2 separate regions of the Homo sapiens genome follow, and region 1 is linked to region 2. Evidence: promoter capture Hi-C in 16 types of primary human blood cells and fetal thymus (Javierre and others, 2016). All regions are on one chromosome and are shown on one strand. The core of a region is centred on a gene start or on the middle of the fragment in contact, and the rest is flanking DNA. Distances in the headings are between cores, read along the strand shown. Region 1 has its middle 46 kb from the start of NOG. Region 2 holds the start of NOG (noggin).

Evidence for each region. The method cuts DNA at HindIII sites, captures the fragments that hold promoters and counts their contacts. A CHiCAGO score of 5 or more calls a contact.
Region 1: a fragment that was not itself captured here is called in contact with the fragment with the promoter of NOG in region 2 in 3 of 17 cell types (naive CD4 T cells, non-activated CD4 T cells and naive CD8 T cells); the score reaches 8.1 in naive CD4 T cells.

Annotation. Positions count from the first base shown.
Region 1 is chr17:56,637,997-56,641,043 of GRCh38, forward strand. No RefSeq gene overlaps it. Among named protein-coding and RNA genes, the nearest start is that of NOG, 46 kb to the left of the region's middle. RefSeq lists enhancers at 181-681, 682-1,182. The HindIII fragment of the contact is 1,686 bases long and covers 488-2,173 here.
Region 2 is chr17:56,592,287-56,595,129 of GRCh38, forward strand. NOG (noggin) reads left to right here and starts at 1,413. Exons shown (of 1, transcript NM_005450.6): 1 at 1,413-2,843. The coding sequence starts at 1,938. The coding sequence ends at 2,636. RefSeq lists a silencer at 266-475. The HindIII fragment of the contact is 13,259 bases long and covers 1-2,843 here.

The sequences.
Region 1 (3,047 bases), core at 81-2,580, 46 kb after region 2:
GAATCTTCTCAATGATGTCTTCTGCTTTATTCTGGCCAACTAAAAGCTCAGAAACAAATTTACTAAACAACTTTAATAATTGTGCAAGATTCCAAGTTGTGCATGCCTGTGTACTAACCCTGCCTTCGCTTCATATTTCTGTTCAGCCCTTCTTTTCTTTTTGCCATGGTTTCTTTAATACACTACATTTTTTAAAAGAGCTGTCTTGTCTCCTGTCTGGAAAGAAAAGAAGTATAAGGGATCAAATCAATCTTCCATTAAATAAATAAACAAAATGCAAACTTTGGTTTTATTCTCACAAAGCCTGTTGGGACAGTGATCATTGTCCTCAAGTTTTGGCTGAGAAGATTCTGGCACAGAGAGCTTAAGTAACTTACCCAAAGTCACACAGCTAATAAGGGACATGGCCAAGATGCTAACTCATGTTTTTCTGACTTAAAAGCCCATGCTCTTTCCACTGCCCTGTGCTGCCAGATATTACCCCCAAAGCTTTCCCTGGCCTCTTGATCTAGGAGGTCTCAAGGCCTCAGGACCTTTCAGAGTCCAAGAGTCGAGCATAGAACCAGCCACTGCTCCCATCTTCTCCCCTTTCACCAGGACAGGACAAGAGGACACAGGTGCAGGCTCCAACTCCACATCCCAATCCAGCCCAAGCCTGGCCAGTCTTGAGCCAGCATGTCAAGGGCTTGGCGCCTTCATTCCGGAGCCCGCATGTGCTGGGAGGAAAGCCTCATGCATGTGTTTCTGATTTGCATGCATCCCGCCTGGTCTCCACAGAGCCATTCCAAGTCCGAGAAGCTGTGGGAGCCTTTTTTATTTTTTTACACACACCCCCCTTCTCTTCCTATCCCTCTCTCTGACAGCTTTTCTCTTTGAATCAGAGAACTAGACTCTGCCAAGTGAAAATGTAACTCAAACCTCAAAGGGCTCAACAGCCTCTAGAAACTCGCAAGGCACGATCACCCTAGAGATGCAGCGCTCTGCTGTCGGGACTCCCGCTGGGCGCAGCTCTCTGCCTGCCAGAGGGTGGGGTGGGGGCAGGGGGAGACTGCACTAGGATCTGGGTATTTTTAGTTGATAATGATTTTAAATGGCCTTGAGCCTTCGGCCTAGAGGTAGGAGTGATTTCTCCACTTTATAGGCAAGTAAGTGAGACTCTGAGAGTTTAAGACCCCTTTATTTATTTAGCGCCTACTATGTGCTGAGTGCTATACATACACATCTCTCCATCCTCACAGTAATCCAGGAGGGCAGGTGGCAGCTTCCAAGGGGGTGCCATCTTCCCTTCATCACACAGCTTGTAAAAAGTGAAGTCTGAACTCAAACCCAGGACTATGTGATTCCAAAGAATTTTTTTCTACCGTGCAGCAGGGCATCCAGAGAAGGTGGGGAGCACCCCAAGAGCCGCTAGCAGGGAAATGGGGGCACGCACTTAAAACCACCCAATATTTCCCCTGAGCATCACAAACAAGCAAAAGATTCACCAAGCCAAGCCTGTTATCTATCTACTTGCCAGGGAGGAATTGAGCATTCCCGGCAGGTGAGTTTATCTGGAAATGGCTTTCCCAAGGAGGTGAGTCCTAGGCTGGACTGTGGAGGATGGGGAGCAGCAGCCACTGAGGGCAAGCGGCTAAAGTGAGCAGTATTTGTCTTTGAGACCCCTTTCCCGAGTCACCACCACCACCGCTGCCACCAAGACTGGCTACATCATTTCCTGGCATAATGCCAAATGAAAATGTGGGGCCTCATGTTCAAAAACTATTCTATTCAGGATGGTGACAGGAGAACATTAACCAAGCACAGAGCCCTGTGTAGCTGCTCAGGAGGATGCCCGTGAAGCAGGCCCTCGGTGACTCCCTCCATATCCACTTCAGAGCCTAGGAGCCACCTTGCAGATCATCCAGTCCCAGAAGCCCAGAGGGACTGCACAAGGCTTAGGAGCTCATAGGTGGTCTGGCAGGGACCATCCCCAACATACCTGTGTCCCCATCTAGGGCTCTCTCCAAATATGCCATTGCCTACCTAATCTGATCTCAAGCAGGCTTGTAAATACCTGTTGATTTAATTCCATTGGGGAACAAAAAGTGATATTCATTCACAACCAAGTGTGAATAATCAGTACCAGTTTAAACTGTGACCCTCCCACAGGGATTTTCATTTTCACAGAGATCAAAGCTTTAAGCTCAAGAAATACACTTCACTTGTTGGCCCTTTAGGCATCAAAGAGTAGATGAGGAGGGGTGCTGGGGACAGAAGAGATAAGGCATTTACCTGCCCCACCCATGGGTCAGGCCAATCCCAGAGAGGCAATACATAGAGAGGCCTGGAGCTAGATCTTAGGGACCCCTGCTGGCTTCTCGCAGTGGTTCAAACAAGGACTTAATTTTCATCACGAGGTCTTACTCCGGCTACTGGCCACTGCACTCTCCACCACAGCAAATCTCTCTCTATGCGAAGCTAGGCCTCCCACAACTTTGGCTTTTCCCCCAACCTTGGTGTGGGATCAATTCTTTCCCAAAACCAGAGGTGAAAAAGGAAAGGAGAGAGGGGGAGGAAACAGGATGGAGGGCAGATGGGAGGAAGGAAAGGGGGGACAGAAGAAAGGAAAAACATTCATTTTGCTTTTAATTGATTGTAAGCTTCATGAGGACAGAGACCATAGCTGACTTATTCCCCCGGAGTCTAAGGCAACCAAGGCAGCCCGTGCAATGCCTGATATACTATAGGTGCTCAATAAATATTATGGATGGGGGAACAGATGGACTGATAGCTGGTGGATGCATAGGTGTACATGTAGATGGATGGACATGTGGATGGATGAGTAGATGGATGGATGGATGGATGGATGGATGAATTGATGGAGAGTCAGTAGGTGAACGGATGAAAGGATGATGAACAGTCGTGTACATCAATGGGTTAATGGATGGATGGGTCGATAGATGGGTCAGGGGATGGATGAAATGCTAGGCCCTTTTTTTTGTTCATTTATGTCTTTTTATGCTTCAAACACTGCCTTGAATTCCCTTTGAACAAAGTAGTGGTTTAAA
Region 2 (2,843 bases), core at 163-2,662:
TGTCCGAGTTATATCAGGGTGGACCCCGGGCAAGACTCAGGTGCCTCTGCTGTCAGCTCACCTTTCAAGTTTCTGGTCCCCACTCGCACCCACTGAGACCAGAGACCGATTTACCTGAGGCAGAAGGTGCTGCACGCATTCTTGTGAAATTTGAGGGGACCGAGAAGGAATCTCAGGAAGTTTGTTTACACTGGGGGCCTGGAGACCTTCGGGAAAATAGCCAGAACCAAAACGGACCAGTCAGCAGACGCAGACACACACAAAGTGACAGGGACACAGAAGCAGAAGCTGAACTGGGCAGAGCGGGCAGCGGCCGACCCACCTCGCACGGCCGCCCCCGCCAGCGCCAGGTGCAGGGCTCATAGCGGGCCAGCAGAGGGCGCGCCGCCCCCAGGGAGCCGAGCGGCGGCCGCGCGGAGCCGGGCGGGCTAGGGGAGCCGCAGGCGAGCCAGTCGCGCCCCTGAGGCTAGGCCACTCAGGGTGCAGGACCCGGCCAAGGAGGAGGAGGATGGTGAGGAGCGGAACCCCCTCGTGGGCCCGAGGGGCAGACAGACAGGAGTGCTTCCTAAGAATTACATCACGCTGCGCAACGCTGCGGCTCTCGGACTCCCTGGTGCAAAGGGGGGTGGGGTAGGGGCTGTGTGTGTGTGTGTGTGTGTGTGTGTATATATGTGTGTTGGGGGGAGGGGACTTAGAGCAAGAGCCCGGGAGAGAAGAAGACGCGCTCGGGGAAAACGCTCCATGCACATGGAGAAATTTCTTGCTCCGAACTGCATGCACCGAGAAACGAGCCCCCAGCACTTCCCCGCTGCTCCCCTCCCAGTGCAAAGCACCCAGCTAGTGAGAAACCCTCCAGCCCCACCTCAAGCACCGCCCCCCCTCCCCAAACACCGGCTCTGCACCCTCCAGCCCGGCTCCAGCGCCGCCGCGAGCTTTCCCCAGGACTGGCCCTGGCGGGGCGCCTAGAGCCCCAGTTGCATTGCTCCAGGAGAAAGGAGGGGGGCGGTGCATTTTGCAGGAGGAGGAGAAGGGGGGTGGGTGGTGGGGGAGAGAGAAAATTGCGCGGAGACCTGCCAAGCGCCACCGCCGCCGCCACCGCCGCTGCCGCCGCCGCCGCCGCCGCCTGTGAGCTCCGGCGGGCAGCCGGACTGTCGGCTTCCCGGGGCATCTGGGTCCGGCGGGGCACAGCCCTGGGCGCTGCCGAAGCCGCCGCCGCCGCCTCCGCGGCGAGTACAGGCGGCTTCCCCCGGAGCCTGTGCAGCTCCAGCTCCTCGGGGGTGGAGAAGTGGGGGGTGGGGTTGTTGTTTGGGGGGAAGAAGGGGGAGGGGGCAACGCCGAGAGAGTCAGTGGTTTCCATGGTGATGGAGCTGAAAGTGCAGGAAATTTAAAGGCTTGGACCCTGCGAGACAGACAAACCGGTGCCAACGTGCGCGGACGCCGCCGCCGCCGCCGCCGCTGGAGTCCGCCGGGCAGAGCCGGCCGCGGAGCCCGGAGCAGGCGGAGGGAAGTGCCCCTAGAACCAGCTCAGCCAGCGGCGCTTGCACAGAGCGGCCGGACGAAGAGCAGCGAGAGGAGGAGGGGAGAGCGGCTCGTCCACGCGCCCTGCGCCGCCGCCGGCCCGGGAAGGCAGCGAGGAGCCGGCGCCTCCCGCGCCCCGCGGTCGCCCTGGAGTAATTTCGGATGCCCAGCCGCGGCCGCCTTCCCCAGTAGACCCGGGAGAGGAGTTGCGGCCAACTTGTGTGCCTTTCTTCCGCCCCGGTGGGAGCCGGCGCTGCGCGAAGGGCTCTCCCGGCGGCTCATGCTGCCGGCCCTGCGCCTGCCCAGCCTCGGGTGAGCCGCCTCCGGAGAGACGGGGGAGCGCGGCGGCGCCGCGGGCTCGGCGTGCTCTCCTCCGGGGACGCGGGACGAAGCAGCAGCCCCGGGCGCGCGCCAGAGGCATGGAGCGCTGCCCCAGCCTAGGGGTCACCCTCTACGCCCTGGTGGTGGTCCTGGGGCTGCGGGCGACACCGGCCGGCGGCCAGCACTATCTCCACATCCGCCCGGCACCCAGCGACAACCTGCCCCTGGTGGACCTCATCGAACACCCAGACCCTATCTTTGACCCCAAGGAAAAGGATCTGAACGAGACGCTGCTGCGCTCGCTGCTCGGGGGCCACTACGACCCAGGCTTCATGGCCACCTCGCCCCCCGAGGACCGGCCCGGCGGGGGCGGGGGTGCAGCTGGGGGCGCGGAGGACCTGGCGGAGCTGGACCAGCTGCTGCGGCAGCGGCCGTCGGGGGCCATGCCGAGCGAGATCAAAGGGCTAGAGTTCTCCGAGGGCTTGGCCCAGGGCAAGAAGCAGCGCCTAAGCAAGAAGCTGCGGAGGAAGTTACAGATGTGGCTGTGGTCGCAGACATTCTGCCCCGTGCTGTACGCGTGGAACGACCTGGGCAGCCGCTTTTGGCCGCGCTACGTGAAGGTGGGCAGCTGCTTCAGTAAGCGCTCGTGCTCCGTGCCCGAGGGCATGGTGTGCAAGCCGTCCAAGTCCGTGCACCTCACGGTGCTGCGGTGGCGCTGTCAGCGGCGCGGGGGCCAGCGCTGCGGCTGGATTCCCATCCAGTACCCCATCATTTCCGAGTGCAAGTGCTCGTGCTAGAACTCGGGGGCCCCCTGCCCGCACCCGGACACTTGATCGATCCCCACCGACGCCCCCTGCACCGCCTCCAACCAGTTCCACCACCCTCTAGCGAGGGTTTTCAATGAACTTTTTTTTTTTTTTTTTTTTTTTTTTCTGGGCTACAGAGACCTAGCTTTCTGGTTCCTGTAATGCACTGTTTAACTGTGTAGGAATGTATATGTGTGT